4 separate regions of the Homo sapiens genome follow, and all the other regions are linked to region 3. The links are contacts of gene promoters, found by promoter capture Hi-C in human tissues and cell types (Jung and others, 2019). All regions are on one chromosome and are shown on one strand. Each heading gives the region's core, a stretch centred on a gene start or on the middle of the fragment in contact. The rest is flanking DNA. Distances are from core to core; before and after follow the strand shown. Region 1 has its middle 4.4 kb from the start of GAREM1. Region 2 overlaps B4GALT6 (beta-1,4-galactosyltransferase 6). Region 3 holds the start of RNF125 (ring finger protein 125). Region 4 overlaps GAREM1 (GRB2 associated regulator of MAPK1 subtype 1).

Region 1 (6,244 bases), core at 1,359-3,858, 460 kb after region 3:
TAAAAGGTCTGTGCTAATAAACCACTCCATTAACATTTGAAGAAAAACACAGATTCTTCTACACCCACCTTCCTGATCCTCTCACTTTGAAGCATTAGCGATAATTTTCACAAAATTCATCTGAAAGTTTTGACCTTTGGGTCATTCACATTGATTTTTTGAAAAAGTCTTGGAAAAAAGTGGGAAGTATTTTACTATAGAGTGTATGCAGAATCAGAAGTCCATAAAGTTCTAAGAATTGCTCACATAGAGTGTTTCGGCCGGGCGCGGTGGCTCACGCCTGTAATCCCAGCACTTTGGGAGGCCGAGGCGGGCGGATCACCTGAGGTCAGGAGTTTGAGACCAGCTTGGCCAACGTGGTGAAACCCCGTCTCCCGTCTCTACTAAAAATACAGAAAGTTAGCCGGGCGTGGGGGCAGGTGCCTGTAATCCCAGCTACTCAGGAGGCTGAGGCAGGAGAATCGCTTGAACCCGGGAGGCGGAGGTTGCAGTGAGCCGAGATCGTGCCATTGCACGCTGGCCTGGGCAACAAGAGCGAAACTCTGTCTGAAAAAAAAAAGTTTCAAAACTTTAAAGATTTAAGTGCCAGCTAATTTCTTTTTCTGAATAATTAATCACTTCTGGAAATAAAGCTCAGAATCCAAAAATGACATAGGAAACATCTAAGATTGGGCAGGGTCAAGGGTCTTTCAACCTGTAAGTAGATCCTAAACCCTTATATGGTAGGCTGATTTTTAAAAAAATGACTTTGTTACTTTTATATTCTCTTTAAAAGCTTCAGAGAATAAGAGAAGTAGTTTCCTCTCACAAAAGGACTGGTGACTTTTGACCTAAAGACAAGATAAAAAGTAAAAAGATTAATGTAATCAACTTTTTAAAAATCAATAAAGGACTTACATTAGATCTGTTATTGCTGACCTTGCAGAAAAGGTTTTATTTCAATCTTGAGTATTAAAAGGAAGAAATTTTAGTGAGCTGCAAATTCTTAGTAAGTTTCATGTCCTGGAAGAACTCTTACAGAAGGATTTTATTTGTGAGATGGAGAGTTTTGGTTAAACTGCCGAAAACAAAAACAAAAAGCAGTTGAGAGGGGTAATCTTTCAGTCTGGCTGAACTGTACTTCCAAACATGTTTCTTAAGGTTGTTGGAACAATGCAAACTGTGTATACAAAAGCATTACAACTTGGTGCAGGGGCAAAGCTTACAGGACTTTGAAGTTTATGAAAAGGAACATCCAAGAAAAGTTTTCTTTAAGGCAACAATTGATGCACTGGTCCCTTGTTCCTACTAAGTACCTTTACAAACTGAGATTTGTGAATTAAAATATCAGCTCCAGAGCCAGATGGCTTGGATTTGATTAGTGGCTCTGCTTCTATTTAATGTCATGGGAAACTTGCTGTTTCCTCCTCTGAAAAATGAAGATAATAATAGTACTCATCTCATAGGGTTGATATGAGAATTTAATCATTTAATATACATTTAGCATTTAGAATAGTGCCAGATGCATAGGAAGTGCTATGGAAGTATTAACATTTGCTATTATTATTAAAAACCATTGGCTTTAAAGGGCAAAATTTATAGAAAAGATGAAGAGATAAATGCTGACGATTTGAATAGATTTGAAAAATAAGAAATGATTAGATTTGGGAAAATAGTTATATCAGGCAAGGAGTAGAAGAACACTTTTTAAATGACAAACCTAGCTGGGGGACTTCATTGCAAATCTAGAGTCTGTGGGGTTAATTTATTCCACAGTGAACCCGCCTCCTACCCAGCAGACCCAGGCAGTGATCATGAAGACTCTGTATATGCTATTGATAAGCCCAAAGGTGAATCAGGTAAATGACACTACAGGACTCAAGTGACAGACACTTGCCAGCTTCCTAACTGTGAGTCTACTGTTTATACATGCATAACTTGTTAATTCTCTGCATTATCAGCTTTGCAAGATAAAAATATTACATATTGGTTTTCCTCATATCAGAGTGTCCTGGCTCACATAATATTCTAGCAGTCAAGTGCAATATCAAAGTTCACAGCCCTAGTGATTTTTTAGGTCTCCCCATTCTTTCCCCTTTCACTTAATTGCCATGTGATCCCCAGAGCTAACTTGAAAGACAGTCCCTAGCTAATGCTTTTTGCAGTATCTATATCGTCATTGTCTATGAAATTAAGTGTAGAGCCCTTGGCATGGCGTAGAAGGTTCTTCCCTTATGTGGCTGGGTCTGCCTCCCTAACCTCACTCCTGTTTGGCTACCTTCTAATACCCTATGATCTGGGGTAGCACCTGCTTGTAGTTGCCCAAATGTATCATGGTAATGCATACCCTTGTAGAGCTTGTTCTCTCAGCTTAGAATGCCTTTCTCCTTTTCTCTTACTGTGAAAACTTCATTCCAGCTCCAGCTTCCTGCATTCCATGAGCTGCTGTATCTCCTCCTCCAAGGAGATTCCTTTTTCTGTGTTACCATTGCACCTGCAATACCCTCTTTTGACTGTACTAGTTGCACTCTGATTAATTATCTTCCTATATTAGCTTTGCCTACTAGACAACAATTGACTGTGGACACAAAGAGTTTTTTTTTTTTTTTACCTCTGTTTTACCAGCTCCTATTACCATGCCTGGCACACAGCAAGTGCTCAATTAATGTTTGTTGAATTGAGTAATCAATGCACTGAGTCAACTTCTCACTCTATATTATTTTGTAGGTCACTGCAACTCCTTTTTTTCCCCAAGCCAAATGGTATACAGCTTTAAAATTTTATTTACTTTATTTTTTCATTTCATTTTTTATTTTATTTATTTATTTTTTTGAGACAGGGTCTCTCTCTGTGGCCTAGGCTGGATGCAGTGGCACTATCATGGCTCACTGCAGCCGCCAACTCCTGGGCTCAAGTGATCTTCTTGCCTCAACCTCCCAAGTAGCTAGGACTACACTCATATGCCACCATGCCTGGCTAATCTTTTTTATTTTTTGTAGAAACCAGGTCTTGCTATGTTGCCCAGGCAGGTCTTGAATTCCTGGGCTCAAGCAGTCTACCCACCTAGACCTCTCAAAGTGCTGGGAGCTACCACGCTTGACCTTGTATCCAGCTTTATTAAGATACTTTTCAGCCGGGCCCAGTGGCTCACGCCTGTAATCCCAACACTTAGGGAGGCCGAGGCGGACGGATCACGAGGTCAGGAGATCGAGACTATCTTGGCTGACATGGTGAAACCCCATCTCTACTAAAATACAAAAAATTAGCTAGACATGGTTGCGCGTGCCTGTAATCCCAGCTACTTGGGAGGCTCAGGCAGGGGAATCGCTTGAACCCAGGAGGCGGAGGTTGCAGTGACCTGAAATTGCGCCACTTAACTCCAGCCTGACGACAGAGCAAGACTCCGTCTCAAAAAAAAAAAAGATACTTTTCATAAACAACCATGGTATCAGGCAGGACATGTGCAGACAGTCATTAAGAGTATAGAACAGCTTTCAAATTCTCTCCTTCAATGGACTACTCAAATCAGAAAGCCACTCTAAAACCCAAACGAACTCTTCATTTGATACCCTGACCCAGCCACGTAAGGGAAGAACCTTCTATGCCATGCCAAGGGCTTTACACTTAATTTCATAGAAAATGAGGATATAGATACTGCAAAAGGCATTAGCCAGGGACTGTCTTTCAAGTTAGCTCTGGGGATCACATGGCAATTAAGTGAAAGGGAAAAGAATGTGGAGACCTAAAAAATCACTAGGGCTGTGAACTTTGATATCACACTTGACCGCTAGAATATTATGTGAGCCAGGACACTCTGATATGAGGAAAACCAACATGGAAGGGAAAGTTTACATGAAGGGTTGACATTTCACATTTAGCATGTTGTTTAATTTTTCATGAGCCAACCCTGACTTTCAAGAAATGGTGGAATTTATCTGACGAGCCACAGTCTAGAACAGGAACTGCTGCTCTTTTGAGGGATGCCATCTCAATGGTACCACTGGAAAGTCCAGATTGCCTGGCACACTGGTAACTGATTTTGGGAGGGTCTGGTTCCAACAGGTGTATGGGTTTAAGGGAGTTAAATCTATGCTGAAGGCAGAGAGCGAGAAGAGGACATAAAAATGCATTTTAGTTTTTCCACACCACCGGGCATTTGTGCCAAGGTGGCTATGTGTGTCAACCTCAAGGAATCCTTCCTCCTGGATGCCAAGAGGAAGTCTCTTAAAACTAGAAAGGAAAGGTATTTTCCCACATCAATTCAGCTTCAGGAACATTCTATTAGTAATATATGCCCCTTCCTCAGAAAACCACAATGAAGTGTTTGGTGTGCTAACAACATAGCCTAAAAGAACAGGAAAACAAAATTCTGCACTTTTATATAATTTGGCAAAAAATCATATTTCAGACTGCCGTCACCAGAGTACACAGATACTGAAAATGCACACACTGCACTCGGCATCTTCAGCGCCTCAGCTTCCTGTGCCTGGTCTGTTTAGGCATCTTCATTTTCTGCAGGGTTATTCCCATCCTTGCCAGCATCAAGAATGCTTTTTTTCCTTTGAGTACCTTCTCTCCCTCCTTTGCAAGGGCCTTTTTAGGTTTGGGCTCTGGCTTAGGAGAAGCAGATTTAGCAAACAACCTTGCAAGTCTTTTGTGGTTCATCCTTCACCTTGACTTTATCTTCTTAGCATCCCCTTCATCTTTTCTCTTGGGCAGGTTGGTGACTGCAGTAGGACATAAGTGCTGGAATCAGAGATGCAACAGCCTGCGAGCTTTGCTCAGTCCCGGGGTCATTCTTGCCTCTTTCACACTGCTCTAATCTCTTAATTATAAACAACATTCATCAAGTCTAGAAATGTTCAAGATTTTTGAGATTTTAATTCCAAATAGCAATGTTTCCTATCAGATTGGCCCCCAATTCTTTTTATTCATCTGAAAATTTGAATTTCATTGAATTCAAGATCTGCACTCTTATTACCCAAGTAGAGATTATGCTTCTAGACTAGCAGTTCCAACATGTATTAAAACCATTAGCATATGTGTTATTGTTTGTTAATTTTTTATCTTCCTTACTAGGACTTCACCCCCAGAAGAGCTTTCTTTATTATCTCTGCATCCCTAGCATTTGGCATATAGTAGACAGTGTGTGTCTGTGTGTGTGTGTGTGTGTGTGTGTGTGTGTGTGTAGTGAATAGATATATAGTGTGATATATATGCATGCATATATATTGTGATATACATATGTTGAATGGATAAAAATACCATAAAACAGCATATCTCATATGGACACTTTCTGAAAGTCTCTTAAAAAATACTCAAACTGGCTGGGCGCAGTGGCTCATGCCCGTAATCCCAGCACTTTGGGAGGCTGAGGCAGGCGGGTCACTTTTGGTCAGTAGTTACAGCCTGGCCAACATGGTGAAACCCCATCCCTACTAAAAATACAAAAATTAGCCAGGCATGGTGGTGCGTGCCAGTAATCCCAGCTACTGGGGAGGCTGAGGTAGGAGAATCACTTGAACCTGGGAGACAGAGGTTGCAGTAAGCCAAGAGCACGCCACTGCATTCCAGCCTGGGTGACAGAGCAAGACTCTGTCTCAAAAAAAAAAAAAAAAAAAAAAAAAGCTCAAATTTACTGTCATTGCTCCCTTTTGATATAGGACATGCCTTTCTTAAGTAGATCACTGGATAAGACAGATATTACAGTGCCAATATAGGAATATTAAGGAAAATATCACCAGTTGCAAATTAAATTTCATGCAGGCTTGTTTGCTTTTAAAACAATACATAACAAATCTCCATTTAGAAATACATATCACATTGTGACCCAGTACACACATACATATAAATTGAAACAAAAGTTATATAAAACAGTATTTATTTGTATACTTATCATATCAACTGCATCCTGATCTTTTACTTTTTATTTATTTCTTTATTTTTAGTGCTAATCATGACCCACTAACTTTATAGATTTCACAATCTATAATGGGTCACAACCTGCAATTTAAAATCCACCATTCAAAATAATAGTTTCTTTTGTGCATTAAGTATTTACATTTCACTTGATCTTAGCCAAAAGGCCGAGAAGCGATGAGTATTTACATTTCATCAAAAGAAGGAGCATTATGGTTAAAATTGTTGGAGCTTCTAAAATTTATGAATACTCAGAAGCAAAACTGTAGATGATAAGAATTTAATTATTTAATTTACCAAAATCATCATATATGTTTCTCTATGTGTATGTGTATGCATGTGTATG
Region 2 (6,935 bases), core at 37-2,536, 370 kb before region 3:
GCTTCTAGCTTTACAGGAACCAAGAAGTGGCACTTCTGGTCTCCAGACCTGAGCAATGCTGGTAGGAGGTTTAAGCCCTGACAAGTGGCAGCAGGAGATGCTTCAAAGCGGTCTGAGCCTTGTTCTGGCTGCTCAATTTCTCAACCTAATTCTCTAGCCACCCAGGTTGTCTCTGGGCTCTCTAATATATTTTCATGAATTCTTTTTTCTCTTAAATCAGATAAAGTATATTCTGTGGTTTGCAACCAAGAACCCTGACTTTTGCAGTCTAGGGTTTAGCTCAGAGGCTTCATTTTTAACAGGTATCCCAGCTGCATTTTTTTTGAGACGGAGTCTCGCTCTGTCACCCAGGCTGGAGTGCAGTGGCGCCATCTCGGCTCACTACAAGCTCCGCCTCCCGGGTTCACACCATTCTCCTGCCTCACCCCCGAGTAGCTGGGACTACAGGCTCCTGCCATCATACCCGGCTAATTTTTTGTATTTTTAGTAGAGACGGGGTTTCACCGTGTTAGACAGGATGGTCTCAATCTCCTGAGCTTGTGATCCACCCACCTCGGCCTCCCAAAGTGCTGGGATTACAGGCGTGAGCCACCGCGCCCAGCCCCCAGCTGCATTTTTAACAAGTGTAGATCATCTGAATCACACTTAAGAGAAATGCAGCTCTATGACCTTCACCCGATCACAGCACCTACACACTGACAAACACCTTATCTACCACCCCCTCAACCTGCCACACCTGAGCTACAGGTCCCATCCTTGCAGCGACAATTATCCATGCTCCAATTCTTTACCTAATAAACAGCACTAAAGAAAGCACGTAAGCATATAGATTAATCCCATCATTTGGGTGGCAATACCTAACATATTGCCTCAAGCATAGTAAGGTTTCAGCAAAAACAAGTGTCACTTTTTTTTTGTATTGTGACTCCACCAGGGTGGGGTGGGGGGCTCTCTAGGATAACCTGTTAGTCACCTTCTAATTTATGATTAGTTGACTTCACTTTTCATTCCCTATGACAACTTTTTAAATACTTACTCCTCCCTTTCAAGCTGCTCAATCCTTCCTGGCCATCCCCTCAGGGACACACGGCCTCCTGCTTTACTAGGAAAACAGACACAGCAGGCACGAGCACCCTACCTCTCCACCTCATCTCCAAATAAACCGCGGGCTTCCTCAGGGGAGGAGGCATTCCTGAGGCTTTCCATGCTCACTCTTCAACCTGAGGCATTGTCTCCATTCACTTTCTAACCTGGCTCTATGGAGACCTCCCTTGTGCTTCTCCCTCATCCTTCCCAGTTCTCTTCTCTTCATCTTTTTCTTTTTTTGAGATGGAGTCTCCCTCTGTTTCCCAGGCTGAAGTGCAGTGGCGAGATCTCAGCTCACTGCCAGCTCCACCTCCTGGGTTCACGCCATTCTCCTGCCTCAGCCTCCCCAGTAGCTGGGACTTCAGGCGCCCGCCACCACGCCCAGCTAATTTTTTTTATTTTTGGTAGAGACGGGGTTTCACTGTGTTAGCCAGGATGGTCTCGATCTCCTGACCTCATTATCTGCCCGCCTCGGCCTCTCAAAGTGCTGGGATTACAGGCGTGAGCCACGGCGCCCGGCCTCTTCTCTCCATCCTTTCTTTCCATGATGCCTACAACATGCTCAAGTCCATCTCTTCCTAAAGAGCTCTTCCCTTACCTCCACCTCCTCCAGATCCTTTACCCCAATCTCCTTCCCTTTGCCACCAAACTTCTCTCATTTCACCTACAGTCTACATACACTTCTGACGCACTTCTCAAGAGTCTACTTTGCTTCTCTCCCAATCATTTTACTGAATTCGTGCTTGCTGTGTTCTCCATTCGTTTTCTGCACCAAATTCAGTGGCCCTTTCACAGTTCCTCACTCTCCCTGCTGTCTGGAGGTGTGTGACAAGACACAGCAGTCTTGTCTCTCTGGGATGTGTTCCTGCCTCGCCCCCCAGACACCACCCTCTGGCTTCTCTAGGTTCCTGTCTCCCCTTCTTCTGTTAACCGCCACTCACCTCACAAGTACGGATTTTCTCAGGGACCCACTCTCAGCCTTCTTCCCCTCTCACTTCCTCTGATGTTCAGTCCGGATCTCTTACTAAAGGCAGACCCCAAGTTAACCCTCTTGAACTTCAAACAAAACGGCCCAAACGGAACCCACTAACTTCCCCATCCTCCAAATGCGACGGTTACTCTGTATCACACTTCAGTTCATGGTCACCAAGTCAGAAACCTGGAAATTAACCCTCACCCCTCAACTGGTCGCCACATCTGGCCAATGGCACCCTGTAGGTTCTTTTTTGTGCCTTCTCCTCTCTCCAACGCCACAGCCTTGGCACTTGCCCTTGTTGTTGCCCGTCGGCTTCCTGCAGCAAGCTCCTCATTGGTCTCCTGCTGATCCCAGTATTTCTCCATTCTCACCCATTGTTCAGCTTCTCATGTGAATAATCTTCCTAAAATACAATCCTAGTCCATCATTCACCTGCCTAAAGCCTTCGATGGTTCTCCATTTCCCTAAAGCAGTGGTGTTTTTTGTTTATTTTTGCTTTTTTTTTTTTTGCCCCTAGACCCTTTGAAAATCATGCACTGTCACCTGAGAGAAATGCATACAGGCTCATAAATCAACTGTCTGCATGTAAGCTCACAGGCTCTTCTCCCTCTGAAGCTCACCTCATGGATGCCTAGGAATGATGGAACCCACAAGGCCCTCAGATTCCTCAGTCCTTTACACAAGACCCTTCTAGCCAGCTTCATTTCCCATACACGCCACTTAACACACCCTCTCTGGGCAGAGCCGACCACTCTCCAGTCCGGGAATACACAGAGCCTCCCTTGTGGTGATGCTGTTCTCTCTCAGCTATCTTGTAAGACCCAGTTCTGATGACACCTCTCTCTGACATCGTCCTTTCCCTTCCAAAATAAACTGCTGTCTCCCTTTTGTCACATTCATAACCTTTTTTCTTTTTTTTTTTTTTTTTTTTTTTTTGAGACAAAGTCTCGCTCTGTTGCCTGGGCTGGAGTGCAGTGGTGCGATCTCGGCTCACTGCAACCTCCGCCTCCAAGGTTCAAGCGATACTCCACCTCAGCCTCCCAAGTAGCTGGGACTACAGGCACGCACCACTGCACTTGGCTAATTTTTGTGTGTGTGTTTTTGGTAGAGACAGGTTTCACCATGTTGGCCAGGCTGGTCTTGAACTCCTGACCTCAAGTAACCCACCTGCCTCAGCCTCCCAAACTGCTAGGAAACAGGCATGAGCCACCACGCCCGGCCTCATAATCTTTTCATAGCATGCCTTTCTCCAAGTGTGTTACCTGCTCCAAGCTGCCACACACATGACCACGTTCAGTCTTGTCTCTCCCGTACCTGCTTCTATGAACAACACAGGGACCGCTGCACAGCGGCTGTTCATCAATGACTTGTTGACTCTAAAATGGCTCCCATCTCATTTTTTTTTTTTACAATAAACATATGCATGACAGTTTGTTACATTAGCATTATTTGAGCTTTGCTGACGTTTGTTTGCTTATCTTTTCCTTCTTTGCTGATTTTCATTTGAATTATTTAAATCCATCTCAAGAAGTCCTTGGAGCTTTTGTTATATTCATAAGGTTAGCAACTATAGAAACTATCAGGGTTAAACCATAAAGGGAACTATTCCACAAATAGTAAGAACAGAATATATAAAGGTCACTGCAAACGTATTCTATTTGAATAAGAATTAAAAGATAGGAAAACTAAAGGTAAGTCTATTTTCAGTCTAATGCAGAGTATGCAATTGACATTTTCCATTTCTACCTCACCCATAAAAATTAAAATCAAAACATCCACACTAAGCACTTATTAATTTTTAGCCTTAGACAAGGTGAAACTTCTATTTTACTTTGTTAGCACAAAGAATCTTACATAAATGCAATAAAGCTGAATGTGGATTTGCCCTTTGGAAAATCTATAAATACTAACAAACAAGAAAGAAGTATTCACTCATACTCTTCATATAAAATATACATATTAAAATAGGCTTTATAGTGTAATTGGCCACTATTGAATATGAAACACTGCTGAAATGTATGAAACACATTTTATCTGTATTCTAGTTTGAAAAATTCACTTTATCTTTACAGAAATCCAGTGCCAGTGTTTCCATTGCTATACTAAGTAAAAATCAAAGAAGTTTACAACAGAATAATCAAATACACCAGTGTTAAGCCTTAACTTCACTTTTAGTGACTATAAGTAAATATTACTTGTACTTGAATGGTTTTCATCTAAGTAGATCTAATTCTTACACAAATCCCTTCTAATTATTATTTGGGAAAGAATCATATTCAATTATTTTGTGTAACTATTATAAGATTTTATACTTATGTATTTTATTGCATTGTTCTCTATTATCAATGAAAACTATCTTTTTAAGTAAAAAAATGTAAGGATACATAGCTAATAATAAAACTTCTAAACTCCACACATTTCTCCTAGGTGTCTCATTTCCTTGACCATTGTAAAGTCTGGCTCTATTATTCAAAGAAGGAGGGAGAAGGAAAGGGAGAATCAAATTAATACCTATCAAACTTTAAGCACTGTGTGCTTCATTCTATCCTTACCACACTCTGCAGATGGTATTGGAATCCCAGGTTTTACAGGTAGGTAAACTAAGCCTCCACTTTGCGGAGGTCACAGGACAAGTGAAGTGCTCTGTCGGGCAGCTCGTGCAAGGCTCTCTTGGCAGAAGCCTCGTTATGTTGGCTGTACCCATGGCTCCTTTCTAAAGCCTTATCTGTATGTGGCTGTATTTTCTACCAAATCACCTTGCCACCATGGCCACCACGGCCACCACTAATTGGGCACAAAATTGGGACAGGACCCAAAGTTGGCAGCCCATGAGAGGGACTGCTGTGAAAAGATGGCTGGCCACACTAGTGTGATCCTCTCTTATAAAAGAATGCAAGGATCCCAGGGAAGCAGAGAGAAGGGGCAGTAGTGCTGAGACCCCTCCCCACCCCCAGTGAAAAGGCAGTGCACAGCAGCCACGCACGACGCAATCTCTCAGGCACCACAAGAGATGGTACAATGGGCTGTGGGGCGGGAGGAGAGGAGTACCAGAATGATGAAGTGGCAGACAGATGCTTTGAAATAGAGTTTAATTAGTACTCATAAAGCACTAATTAAAGAAAATGGCAACTAAACCAAGAACAGAAAGATTTCCTGAAACTATAAACCTTGAATATGAAAATTATGAAGATGAAATTATTGTAATCAATATTTCAACAGAACATTACCCAGTGGTTTCAGTATTACACAGACAAAAGTATTCATTTTTAGGAAAACAAGGCTGCAATAACAAAGTAATGACAACCACAAAAATCACTGAGTTCCATTCTTTATTATGGTACAGCAAAGAGACAGCAAGATTAGAATCACCTGAGAATTTTTTTTTTCTTAAATACCAGGGACCAGGCCCACTACTCTAGATCAGTGGGTCTCAATACGTGGCCCAAGGCTCAGCGGCAACAGCATCACCTTGCGGGATTTGTTAGAAATGCAGATTCTCAGGCCCGCTCCAGACCTGCTGAGTCTGAAACTCTTGAGAGCTGGACCAGCAATGGGGCTTGACAAGATGATCTGGGTGATTCTGATGTACCCCCAAGACTGAAAGCCATGGCCTTAGATGATATTAGAAGGTCAATCTTTCTTTTTATTATTGATATATAATATCTATCAACAATAAGCTAAAACAAGTCCTACAAATATGATAGGCAAAGGCTAATTTCCTCAATTAAAAAAGCTCGTGTCAAGAATAAAAAACACAGATACAAAATACATCAGAATATGGATAAATAAGCAATTCAAAAAGATGTTTATTTAAATCTTTATATCAAATCCAAGATACAAACCTATATGTACAAAGTAGGCTTAAAAATCATGGGGCAGGGGTAGAAGATACACACACAAAAAAAAGCTAAAATAATAGCCGTGTGGCTTCTGAGTGTTGACAGTACAGTATAGTGTTTTTTTTAAAATAATGATAATGTATTATCTTCATAATTAAAAATATATATATTTAAAGTACAGTAGCTTTATCACTACCACATATTACACACAAAGGTTAAAAACAAAATAGTAAAATCATTAGAAGGAAATAAAGGTATTTATCTGTATGGCCTCTGGGTAAGAAAAGGTTTAAGACCAAAAAAAAGCAAAACACCTAAGTAAAGTTATTAAAAAATTTGAAAAGGTCATAATTTTAAACTTCCATAAAATAAAAGACAAAACAAGAAGCCTGGGAATGTGAAAAGATACTTACAAAACACATAGCAGACAACAGGCCACTGCCAGAATATAAAGAATTTCTACAGATCAATACCAACACACAATAACCAACCAGGAACTGATAAAGCCCATGATGCAGCAAGTCACAGGAGAGAAAATTTAAAAACACAAACATAGGAAAACTTACTCAAACCCACCAGGAATGAGGGAAGTGAAAATCGAAACAACGAGAAACCATTTATCTTTCAGATTAGCAAGAATTTAAAAGTCCATCAATATCAAAGTGGTACATTCATGCTTTGCTGTTAGGGATATAAATTGGTATAGCTGCTTTTGAGAGCAATTGACAAAATCTGGAAAACCTGAGCCAACCTACCCAGCAATTCCACCACTAGCCATCAACCCTCAAGTACACATGCATATACGCACAGGAAAACTCACACTCTGTTGTTCTTTATACCAAAATATATATATATATTTTTTTTGCTATTTTGTGATAGCAAAAATGTTGAAACCACCTAAATGTTCATCAGTGGGGAAACAGGTAAATGAGATGTGATACATTTATACAAAGACGTACCACACAGTAATAGTTAAGGGAAAAAAATTAGATCTATATGTAACAACATGGGTAGTTCTCAAAAAAGTATGTAAA
Region 3 (6,097 bases), core at 45-2,544:
GGCTTGGTTTGTTTTTTGAGACATGGTCTCACTCTGTCGCACAGGACGGAGTGCAGTAGTGTGATCTTGGCTCCCGTGCTCAAGTGATCCTCCCACCTCAGCCTCCCAAAGTGCTGAAATTACAGGCGTGAGCCACGGTACCCGGCCTATATCTCCTAATTAAAAGTAAAGCCTGGGTGAAGTTTATGGCCTGCTAAATACGTACATGTATTATATGCGTTATTATATCCCATGTGTTATATTATATATTATTGTATATGTGTATTATATACTATGTACTATTCTTACAACTGTATGTGAATCTATAATTATCTCAAAGTTTTGTTTTTGTTTTTTAAAGTAAGTTCTGTGAGAACTGGGATTTTGTTTGCTTGTTGACGATTGTGTCTTCATCACTAGAACCGAGTCTGGCGTGCAGTGGGCACTAAATAAGTCTTCGTAAAAAGTGTAAATTAACGCCCGGCTAATTTTTGTATTATTAGCAGCGACGGGGTTTCACCATGTTGGCCAGGCTGGTCTCGAACTCCTGCCCTCAAGCAGGAGTTTCAAGCCCGCCTCGGCCTCCCAAAGTGTTGGAATTACAGGCGTGGGCCACCGCGCCTGGCTGATCATGTTTAAAGGGCGGGGTGGGGAGCGTACAAACAACAGAGGAAATCCTGAGCCGCAGAGGAAACTGGAGATGGCAGGGTTTAGCACTAGAATCTCTGTAGGAGAGGTAAGATTGGAATCCTAATCTCCAGGACTCTTTCCACTACCCAGGCTATCTCTCCATTAATGGACTATTGATTGGATGACAGAGTAGCGATAGCACCGTCTTAGGAGACGCCCAATCATAGGTCATAGGTCATTTTTGCAGCTTATTGTGATGACAACAGTGGAGGATGGTCTTCCACTTCACCTTAAAAGCGGCTGTTCTCTGATTATCATTAAGCATGGCCACGCCCGCACTTAACTTCTGACAGTGGGGAAAGCAGCTGTGTGTGATAGCTTGGAAGGTTTACTGCTGCCTCAAGTCCTCTTCTCTGCAGTTGAGGTTTCAGGTTTCAATCCTCCCAATACCACAAGACAGAGCACGGGGCGGCTGCCGCCTCCGCCTCCGCGCCTTAACCTAGGCGGCTTGCCGAAGATCTCAGCCCCGCGGCCGCGCGCTCGCCCTGCCCTAGACCAGGGTTGGGCGCAGCGGCGGAGGTGGCTTCTGGGCTGCGCGAGCTGGGAGAGCTGGGAGGCGGCGATCGCAGCTGGGCCGGGACTTCCTTCCTCCACCGCACGGCAACAAAACAACCCTGCGGCAGGCACTGAGTGCTTCGCAGCTGTCTGGGCGAGAGGCACAGCGATGGGCTCCGTGCTGAGCACCGACAGCGGCAAATCGGCGCCCGCCTCTGCCACCGCGCGGGCCCTGGAGCGCAGGAGGGACCCGGAGTTGCCCGTCACGTCCTTCGACTGCGCCGTGTGCCTTGAGGTGTTACACCAGCCTGTCCGGACCCGCTGTGGCCACGTGTAAGTTCCAGGGGAGCTCGGTTTGCGCCCACCCCTAAGGAGGGCGATGTGGGGAAGCTGAGGGCATGGTGTGGGGAAGGAGGGGGACGGAAGACAGCCTCTTAGGAAATTGCTGCAGGGAGAAACCTGGACCCGTCGGATGCAGGACCACGGGGAAAACGCGGGTCGGAAGGTGACACAGGATTTCGGGAGGAGAAAAAATAAACAAGCGGGTCCTGTAGCCCCCTTGCGCTTTCAGCTCCCGAAGCCCAGGTGCGGAACTCCAGAGAAGGGGATCCAGGCACGGGTCCCGCCCAGAGCCAGGGCTCGCCAACTGGGGAGGGTGCTCTTGGCTGGAGAACCAGCGCTCGCCCAGGCACGGAAAGGAAACGAGCTCCAGCTACAAGGCAGGGGCTCCCGCAAAGCGCAGTTACCCCGCTGAACACGGTAGAACGGGCTGCGCTTCCCTCTGCCCCAGAAACCCGGGTCCGTTTTGTTTTGCTGGAGCTGTGCACGTGTTCCCAGAATGCCCACAGAGGCTCGTCTTAAGCAAACAAGGATCTGTGCAAAGTGTCTTTCCACCCCCACCCCTGCTACCCTTTCCCAACACAGACACCCAGCCCCTCAAAGGGCAAGTCAAACTGGAGCTTCCGAGTGACTTTCCACAGTTGTTAGAGTTTAACAACCTGCTAGGGTGGGGCTTGGACGTTAGCCGCCAAGCCCCTGAATGTACTCCTTCAAAACCCAGCCACAACGTAACAGGAGGTGGCAGGCTACCTGCTTTACGCACGGTCTCTCCAAACCGGCGGAAATTACAGAGTAAAATAACTTTCTCAAAACCGCATAGTACTTAGCTAAAACTCACAGTTGGTGCAAAGCCGTGGTCGTTTCTAAGAAGAATTTAAAAACAAAGTCCCTATATAAAATTGGCACATCCTTAATGTGTGTTTGAATAACTGGTGGAGTTGGAGCTGTGAATTTGTGCTCTCTGTTTACTGTGTGTGTGTGTGTGTGTGTGTGTGTGTGTTTGAGAGAGAGAGAGAGAGACGTAGTCTGGCTCTGTCGCCCAGGCTGGAGTGCGGTGGTGCTATCTCGGCTCACTGCAACCTCCGCCCACTGCAACCTCCGCCTCCCAGGCTCAAGTGAGTCTCCTGCCTCAGCCTCCCGAGTTGCTGGGATTACAGGCGCCCACCCCCACACCCGGCTAGTTTTTGAATTTTGAGTAGAGATGGGGTTTCACCATGTTGGCCAGGCTGGTCTTGAACTCCTGACCTCAATTGATCCACCCACCTCGGCCTCCCAAAGTGCTGGGATTAAAGGTGTGAGCCACTGCACCCAGCCTTCTCTCTTTGCTTTGATTTTTTTTCGTGGATACGTGTGTGTGTGTTGTGTCTGCACAGATCAGGAGCGGAAGCCTACTTAATGTCCTTTGAAGGGTGACTATAGTATGATGAAGCCATGTGTGATACCACAGTGGCTTGTACCAGCATTTGGCTTAGCAGGAAGAAAGAAATACCGTTATTATGAATGCAAGTGCACAACATGTTTTTGAGGACCACTTTTGAAAGGATTTAGGTAGTCCTTAAAAACATGTTGTGCACTTGCAGTCAAAAGTTTTGACGCCCGGCGTGGTGGCTCACACCTGTAATCCTAGCACTTTGGGAAGCCGAGGTGGATGGATCACCTGAGGTCAGGAGTTCGAGACCAGCCTGGCCGACATGGTGAAACCTCGTCTCTACTAAAAATACAAAAATTAGCCAGGTGTGGTGACCCGTGCCTGTAATCCCAGCTACCTGGGAGGCTGAGGCAGGAGAACTGCTTGAACCTGGGAGGCAGAGGTTGCAGTGAGCTGAGATGGCATCATTGCACTCTAGCCCGGGCAACAGAGCAAAACTCAGTCTCAAAAAAAAGAAAGAAAAAAAAGAAAGTTTTGAAAGGACTTAGGTAATCCTTAATACCTATAGCCTTGTATCTGAAAAGCAGTTTTCACTACTGCCCGTCTGTGAGCCAGGGACAAAAGTGTGCAGCCTGCACAATGTATAAATAAAGAGTGCTTTGGGCATTATTTCGTAGCTGTGTTTTCTTTTCTTTTGAGATGGAGTCTTGCTGTGTTGCCCAGGCTGGAGTGCAGTGGCACGATCTTGGCTCACTGCAAGCTCCGCCTCCCGGGTTCACGCCATTCTCCTGCCTCAGCCTCCCGAGTAGCTGGGACTACAGGTGCCGCCACCACGCCCGGCTAATTTTTTTGTATATTTAGTAGAGACGGGGTTTCACCGTGTTAGCCAGGATGGTCTTGATCTCCTGACCTCGTGATCTGCCCGCCTCGGCCTCCCAAAGTGCTGGGATTACAGGCGTGAGCCATGGAGCCCGGCCGTAGCTGTATTTTCAAGGCCTGTTGTTTCAGCTTTGTTCTTAAAACTCGAGGCTTAAATTTACCCTCCTTTCTATTACTGATGTTGTTGCTCAGCTGTCCAGATGTAGCTTATTAACATAATATCCACAGGCCAGTCTGGAAGCCAAGATGGGCTGTGTGAGTCATAAAATATATTGATTATTTTAGGGCAATAACAGCCTAAAGATATCTCCATTTAAATTGAGTCATTATTAGCATTAAAACTTTAAAGTTGTGCAAAACATAAACAGTGGGCGTTTTGAAGATTCTTTTTGGAACAGACCGCTTTGCTATTCAATGATCTGACTGGAGATTGTTTTCTCGGTTTGGACTTTGAATATTATAATTTACCATTTACAATATTTTTCCTTCTACTAAAGGATAATATAAATTTGCAAAATGTTAAATTTTTTGTTTAATCTTTTTCTTTGTTAAAGTGAATAGGAAACTAGCAACTGGAAAAATAGTCATAAAATAGCATTACAAGGGCTGAACAAATTGCCTTTCCTCTCTTTACTGTTCTTTGTTTTGACAAATCTATGTCCATTGTTCTGGCTGTGGGCAGAATTTCCATATTCCTCCTTTTGGCAAACTTACTTGGTCCCCTTCCACTTTATAAATGTTAACCAGAGTCCTTTCTGCAGTAGAGATTGTGAGCGTTAATACCATTTGTACATTCTAAATGAATTACTCTTTTCCATTGAAATTAAGTTGGAAAACGAATAAATGCAAATGAACCTTCTGTATTTTATTATCCCATATTGAAGCTACATTTTCAGACATGTTGAACTAGGTGGTTTATGCTGATTTTTGTTTGTAAACCTATTTCAAGTCAAACAAGTTTAATAATAACAACAGTACCTTGAATGAATATGTAAGAGCACTTTATAAGTTGTATTGTGATGCAGTAGTAACTGGCCCTTACAGAGAGCTGGATTTGAAATTCACCTCTGCCACTAGCCAGATGTGTGACCACTTTAGGGAAATTTGAATTTGATTTTTTTCCCCTAAAGTTTTGATCATTTGAGTCTATGAAACAAACTGCTAATAGATTAACAAGGGGGGAAAAGCTTACAAATGTATTAATGAGCATATGGGCATGGGAGTCATACAAAATATGAAAACTGAGAGAAAGGGCCAGATGCTTGATGCTTTTATACCATCTTGAGGTTACAGCAGAGTAGGGGCTTGGAACATGGTTATGGGAGGGAGAAAGAAAGAAGGGGCTGGGGCAAAGATGGTCTAGTTATGCAGATGAAACTTCATAGATAGCAGCTCCTAGAAAGAATAGGCATGAGCCTGTGTTAAGTTGCTCTGTCAGACCTTCGTAGGTGTCAGACTTTCAGTTAATAATTTCCTAGGTACAGATAAGGGGGTGCCTCCAAGAAAGCCTGGTTGTTTATTTCACCAGTGTAGATTTTCTCTACAGATGCAAGTCTCCTCCACAAAAGGCAGCTTTTCAGGGTTATTCCTGTGGGAATATATCAAAGAAGTACATTTTGGGGTGAAATATTTTCAGTTTCCTTTAGTCCCCCATTTAAAGCTTAATTTTTAAAACATTAAACATTTCCTTTATTTTTATTATTTATTTATTTATTTTTAGCGGTGAGATCTCACTCTGCCACCCAGGCTGCAGTGTAGTGGTGCAATCATGGCTCACTGCAGCCTCCACCTCCTGGGCTCAGCAATCCTCCTGCCTCAGCCTCTCACGTAGCTGGGACTATAAGTGCCTGCCACCATGCCTGGCTATTTTTCACTTATTTGTTTATTTTGAGATGGAGTCTCACTCTGTCACCTAGGCTGGAGGGCAGTGGCGTGATCTCAGCTCGCTGCAACCTCTGCCTCCCAGGTTCAAGTGACTGTCCCGCCTCAGCCACTCTAGTAGCTGGGATTACAGACATGCACCACCACACCTGGCTAGTTTTTGTATTTTTTGTAGAGGCAGGGTTTCGCCATTTTGCCCAGGCTGGTCTTGAACCCCTGAGCTCAGGTGATTTGCCTGCCTCGGCCTCCCAAAGTGCTGGAATTACAGGAGTGAGCCACTGCACCCAGCCAAGAAAGTGACAATTCTTTACATACCGCAAGGTCAGGATTTTGTAAGGGAACCATATACACAGGGTACCAGGCCAATCTTTTTCTAAGTCTGTTGGCTTTTTAATGTCAATTTCAGTCCCTCAAAACAGTTTGATCATGTATCTAAGTATGACATTCCAGTTAAAGCCTTGCTAA
Region 4 (6,194 bases), core at 1,822-4,321, 430 kb after region 3:
TTTACAGAAAGAGTTGTAAGAAATGATGTAACTTTAGTACTAAAAGTACCAAATTTTAAAATTTCTTGATGATAGGGACCTTATACTTCCCCATCCGCTTTGCACATCATAGGCATGTTCACAAAATTGGTTTTATTTCTACAGACATTTCTCAAGTCATATTAATTAAAAGATGTGCCATGGATGAACCAAGAAACTACATAATTTAGAAGTTATGTTGTTGAAATTCTTTGTTATTATTGAGGTGTTGCCTTCCTAATCCTATACCATGTGTGTTATATCCAATAATTCAGTTGGCATTGGCTAAGTATACTGTGAGAGAGTACTGAAGAACCTGGTGTAAAATGAAAATTATGTCATTTCACAAATAAATATATGGACATAGATAATAAAGAATTGCTATGGTGTATTTCTAAAGGGGTTTATTGTGGGATCTCTCTTGCCCCATTGTCAAAGAGACACCTATCATTTATCAAAGTACTATTAAGGACTCAGGGTCTGAGTCCTTGGCTTCACACAGGTGGAGGGTGGTCCATGAATACTTTGAAATTATGTGAAGAACTGTGTTTATACCTATCTATTTGCAGCTTTCACAGGATCTCCAAAAAGCTAAGCAAGAATCACTGCTAATGTTGTAATCAATAAAAAATGTAAAATTATCACCTGGTACAAATGTATACTAGAGGAGGGGAGATTATCTGTTGATGTCAGAACCTAAGTGTGACCACATCCCCGATCATGTCTGTTATGCTCTTACTTGTCATTTGTGATGGCACTGGCCTGTTTCTGGCTTAATTTCCATAGCACTTGCTACTTACTCTACTCCATAATCGTAAAATGCACTCCTCAGTTACAGGAAAGGGTTTGACAACAGGTATGGGCTTTGTGACAGGTAAATACCAGAAGCAGAGGCTCTCTAGAAAGAAGGCTGGAGTTTCTTCAAGTCTCACCCCAAGGTAAATGAAGGATATTACTATACATATGTGTTTATATATATACAAATATCATATGTATGTATTTATGTACCTTTGAGGACAATTTGGGAACAAGTCTTTTACAAACCAAGAAGGAAAAATGCAAACAGTTCTTACTTTGCTGTTATATGTCACCTTCCACCCCAAGTCTTTCTTGTTGGGGAGACTGGGGTAGGAAGACAATAAACATTCAAAATAGAAAACCTTCTTCAGTGAGTAATCCCCAAGGTCCAGTTGAATTCTGCAGGGCCCTCATGGTTCTTTTTATTTCAATAGCGGGATCAGACCTCTCCTTGGTATTTTTGCTTACAGTGGTTCAACTTTCAATAAAGATGATGGACAGAAGACTCTCTCATTTTATGATAAGCAATACGAATGGGAAAACACTACTTGTTGGTCTGAGAATTAGGAAAGGCAGGCCAGAGTTTAAAGCACAAGATCTAGAACTGCCTCCGTTGCTGGCTTCTCCGCTTTTCAGCCATGTGACCTTGAGCAAATTATTCCTTATGTCAAAGAGCTCTTGAGAAGTAAATGAGATAATGTATGTAAAGTGTTGTACAGCAGCTGGCACCATAATTAGTCCTCAATGAACACTAACTATAATTATTATACAGAAATAAACACCAACGGATTTGTTTGGGGGAATATGGAAGAGTTACTTTTAACAGTTTTATGTGCCTTTGTTAAGAAGGTAAAAGCTATAGCTTCCTTTTTTTAAAAAGTTTTTAATCATTCATAGTAAAGTGTTATTAAAAAGCAGAAAGTTAGGCTGGGTGCGGGGGCTCACGCCTGCAATCCCAGCACTTTAGGAGGCCGAGGCAAGTGGATCGCTTGAGTCCAGAAGTTAGACAACATGGCGAAACCCCATCTCTACAAAACATATATATTTAAAAAAAATTAGTTGGGTGTGGTGGTGCACACCTGTAGTCCCAGCTACATAAGAGGCTGAGGTGGGTGGCTGAGGTTGCAGTGAGCTGTGATTGTGCCACTGCACTCCAGTCTGGGCAACAGAGTGAGACTGTCTCAAAAAAACAAAGGGTTGGGGGGCAGGCACGGTAGAAGTTTAATAAATATTCTTTCATCTTCTGTGAAGACCAGAATTATTATTTCTTATCATTACGACTATTCTAATTCTTCAAAATTTCCTTTGCAGGGAGAATGGTGACATGCAGTAAACCAGGTTTGTTTTTTCATTTTCCTGTTAATACATAATCTTGAAGGGAGGAGAGTCTATTTTGGGTAATCACCAATGTCTACATAAAAAGCTTAAAAGGTGAATAATTTAGGTGGAGACCCCTATGGACATTGGGCAGGCAAAGGCATAGGAACCTTTAAAAAGAATGGACAGAAAAAGCAAGCCTCCTTATGTAAGAACACTAGCCAATGGGAAAAAGTGCCATTAACTACCTCCCTTTGCCAGTAATTGCAGCTATAAAAAGAATATTATTACAGTAAGGTTAAGTTAATATCTTGCTGTCTGTGGCACAACCAGTCAGAAAATTTTTAAAGATATTCTAATATTCTGAGTACTCAGCAATCAGTATCAATCAACTTATAACTGATCTTCTGTTCCGACTGTAACGGCTATCCTTTGCAATACTTTCTCTTCCCTGCTGGATTAGAAAATTGGCTGAAATCCTACTGCAAAATCTAAGGGTACCTTTTAAATCCCTAAATGCAAGTCAGCAATTCTGGAGTTTAAAAAAGCTAAATCCTGTTTAAGTGATTAATTCAACCCTTATGCCAACTGTTACATACAATTATTTAAAAGTTCTAATAAGCTGCTAAAAAAAAAACTGTTTAGGGGTTGCAACATGTGTAACCACAAGCATTAACCTTGATCTTTTACCATCATCAGCACTGGCTCAATTCTCTCTTGATCAATGTGATTCACTCGGTAGCTTGATTTATGACCATTACATTGAAATTTCCCAGTATTATTTCTCTAGCCCTGAATTCTCTCAAGATGCAAGCCCAGATTTCTGACTCCTGAACTGAATTTCCTCTTCAATACCTCAACATAGCCACAAATTATCTTGCTGCTTTCTCATACCTCCAGCCTTTAGCACTTACTGGAGTCATAATCCCAGCATATGGAAAGATGGTACCTCACCCTGTTGAAAGTTGGGTGTCGCCATGGGTCTTGCCAGTAACAATGACATGTAAGAGGGATACAAGGTGCATCACTTCTGAACAGAAGCTTTAAGGGGCCAGGGCATGATTTACCATATTCTGTCTTTCCTCAACAGCTGTGGTAATCCCAGCACTTTGGAAGGCTGAGGCAGAACTGCTTGAGCCCAGGAGATTGAGACCAGCCTTGGCAACATAAGGAAACCTCATTTCTATTAAAAAAAAAATTAAATTAGCCAGGTGTGGTGGCACACACCTATAGTCCCAGCTACTTAGAGGGGCTGAGGTGGCAGAACCACTTGAGCCTGGGAGGCTGAGGCTGCAGTGAGTCATGATGGTGCCACTGCACTCCAGAGCTGGATGACAGAGTGAGACCTTGTCTCAAACAAAAACAAGAATGAAAACAATCATGGAAGCACAAACTGAGGCTTTTAGGCCTGGGATCCTCAATGAGGATGATGATGGAGAGCAGAGCCCCCATCCCCCCACCCCCAAGCTAGCTCATTTCATCTCAACTGTGAAGACCAGAATTATTCTTTCTTATTCCCACAACTATTCTAATTCTTCAAAATTTCATGCAGCACAAGTGAACAATAAACCCTTGCTGTTTTAAACCAACTAACACTTTGGAGTTGCTACTGCCACCAAATCTCGCCTACTCTGCCTCATACACTCACCTGCAACCTGCTTCTCTATCTCTGATAAGGGCATTAGTACCCAAGTCAGTAACCTCAGGACTACTTAATGCTTCCCTCTTCCTCATATTCCATTATCCAGTTATTAATCCTGGAAATCTTACCTTATAATATTTCCCACTCACCCTGCTCCACTACATTCCCACAAATCTAGTTTTGCCTAGAGGCCCTCTTTCTCTTTGATTATAAACCCTATAGCTTCCAAATATTGCCTAATTCCAAACTTTTTCTGCTCTAAATGATCTTCCAAAATGACCAGAATAACCCTTGTTAAACAAAAAAAAATCTGGGCCTTTCCCATATTTACAGCCCTTCAGCACTTCCCACTGTTTGTATAACAAACATTGGAGGAGCATGTTTGCAAACAGGCACTGTGCTAGGCACCACAGGAATGAGGATGAGCCATTTGCCTGGATAATGATCTTCAACATGATGCAGTGACAGAGCCAGCTGCAGAATGTTGCTTGATACTAGCATTTAGTAAAATACTGAAATCGGTGACAAAAGGTATTTTTAAAATAAAAATTAGAGTTAAATCAAGTTAGAGTTAATTCAAGTTCTATGAAGACTTGACTTTCACTCATATTCTGACATGCTTTCTTGAGAAGGAGAAGAGATGGAGGTCATCATTAGCTAGCCAAGACGTGCACAATGGCCCAAGATTCTGCATCAAGTCCTTCCTGAGACTCTACTGATATTAGGAGCTTACATATTATTATAACATACATGACTGTAGTTTGTTACCCATTTTTATAATAGAGTTCATCAAATTTAGGACCCCAGTGAATTCTGTTGCAATCCATTCTGTTGTAACACCATCTGTCATTTGTGTCCCGGAAAGGGAAGGGATGTTAAGAGCCACCAAGTTAGCCAGATGAGAAAAGTCAAATGTCAGTATATTGCGGCTCTTCAAAATCTGTTTCCCAACTTGCCCTCCCCTAACATGCCTCTGTTCAGGCGTTCCAAACCTTTGTCAGGCCACCATTCCCTCTTTAAAACCTCACAAAATTCTACTCATTGAACAACTAGTTCAGTGATCAATTAACATTTTCTATTAAACCTGTCCCAAGAGTTGTAGGCAACATTAACTGGCCTCTGGGCTGAAGCATTTCCTTGCTTATCACATGACAGTATTTAATTGTCTAAGCACCTACCTACTCAGTGGGCCTCTGAACTCCTTGAGGATGAGTATCACATGTATTCATCTTTGTGCACCTAGCCCTTGTTACTGTGCTTGTACAGCAGCAGGCACATGCTCCACAGCTGTTAAATGAATAGTGTGGAAACCACATACCATACTCCCACTTACCCATCAGCCTACTGATGAATGTTAGGGGAAACTGTTACTTTGAGGATCCAGAGAAGGGGGTTTTATACTTATAACTTCTACGTTTTTTTTTTTTTAAGAAACTTGGCATGTTATTAACTATAGGGTAGCAAAACTTATATAGGTATGTATGTGTGTGTGTTTACACGTGGGTGTGTGCTTGAGTATGTGTCTTTAACAGGTTTACTGTGACTGCTTGTATTAGTCCATTTTCACGCTGCTGATAAAGACATACCCGAGACTGGGTAATTTATAATGAAAAAGAGGTTTAATAGACTCACAGCTCCACGTGGCTGGGGAGGCCTCACAATCATGGTGGAAAGTGAAAGGCACGTCTTACGCGGCCGCAGGAAGAATGACAGAATGAGAACCAAGCAAAAGGGGAAACCTCTTAAAAAACCATCAGATCTGGTGAGACTTATTCACTACCATGAGAACAGTACAGGGGAAACTGCACCCAGGATTCAATTATCTCCCACTGGGCCCCTCCCATAACATGTGGGAATTAGGAGAGCTACAATTCAAGATGAGATTTGGGCGGGGACACAGCCAAACCATACCACTGCTATAATAAACTACCACAAACTGAATGGCATCAAACAATAGAAAATTTATTCTGTCACAGCTCTAGAGGCTGAAAGTCGAAAACCGAGCTGCAGGCACAGCCACACTTCCTTTGAGGGTCCTAGGAGAGATTCTGTTCCCTGCCTCGCCTAGCTTTTGGTGGCTCAGGTAAGCCTTGGTTTGTGGCTGCATTACCCCAATCTCTGCAACCATCGTTACCCTGCCTCCTTTTCTGTCTCAAATCTCTGTTTGTCTTTCTCTCATAAGTACGTTGTCATTGGATTTAAAGCCCACTCAGGTAATCCAGAATGAACTCCTCTTAAGACTGTTAATTACATTTGCAGAGATCTTTTCTCAAAAGAAAGTAACATTCACAGGTTCCAGGGATTTCGATGTGGACAAATCTGCTGGCAGGACCCCCATTCGATCAACTACACTATGTGTGCACATGCCTGTGTGCATGTGTGTTGTATATTGTACAAAGAAGAATCCTTAAACAAGGCT

The links. The method cuts DNA at HindIII sites, captures the fragments that hold promoters and counts their contacts. A contact is called where the count stands out against the background at its distance.
Region 1: a fragment that was not itself captured here is called in contact with the fragment with the promoter of RNF125 in region 3 in 1 of the 25 tissues and cell types used here (dorsolateral prefrontal cortex).
Region 2: a contact is called between a fragment that was not itself captured here and the fragment with the promoter of RNF125 in region 3, in 1 of the 25 tissues and cell types used here (small bowel).
Region 4: a fragment that was not itself captured here is called in contact with the fragment with the promoter of RNF125 in region 3 in 1 of the 25 tissues and cell types used here (dorsolateral prefrontal cortex).

What each region holds. Positions count from the first base shown.
Region 1 is chr18:32,472,125-32,478,368 of GRCh38, forward strand. No RefSeq gene overlaps it. Among named protein-coding and RNA genes, the nearest start is that of GAREM1, 4.4 kb to the left of the region's middle. The HindIII fragment of the contact is 5,505 bases long and covers 1-5,361 here.
Region 2 is chr18:31,650,463-31,657,397 of GRCh38, forward strand. The region is part of intron 3 of B4GALT6 (beta-1,4-galactosyltransferase 6); the gene reads right to left. Among named protein-coding and RNA genes, the nearest start is that of B4GALT6, 31 kb to the right of the region's middle. RefSeq lists enhancers at 1,788-1,887, 1,898-1,967. The HindIII fragment of the contact is 9,490 bases long and covers 1-6,031 here.
Region 3 is chr18:32,017,531-32,023,627 of GRCh38, forward strand. RNF125 (ring finger protein 125) reads left to right here and starts at 1,295. Exons shown (of 6, transcript NM_017831.4): 1 at 1,295-1,497. The coding sequence starts at 1,334. RefSeq lists enhancers at 617-1,489, 896-1,190, 1,490-2,362, 2,007-2,056 and a silencer at 896-1,190. The HindIII fragment of the contact is 18,790 bases long and covers 1-5,174 here.
Region 4 is chr18:32,447,664-32,453,857 of GRCh38, forward strand. All of the region lies in intron 1 of GAREM1 (GRB2 associated regulator of MAPK1 subtype 1), which reads right to left. Among named protein-coding and RNA genes, the nearest start is that of GAREM1, 20 kb to the right of the region's middle. The HindIII fragment of the contact is 4,181 bases long and covers 982-5,162 here.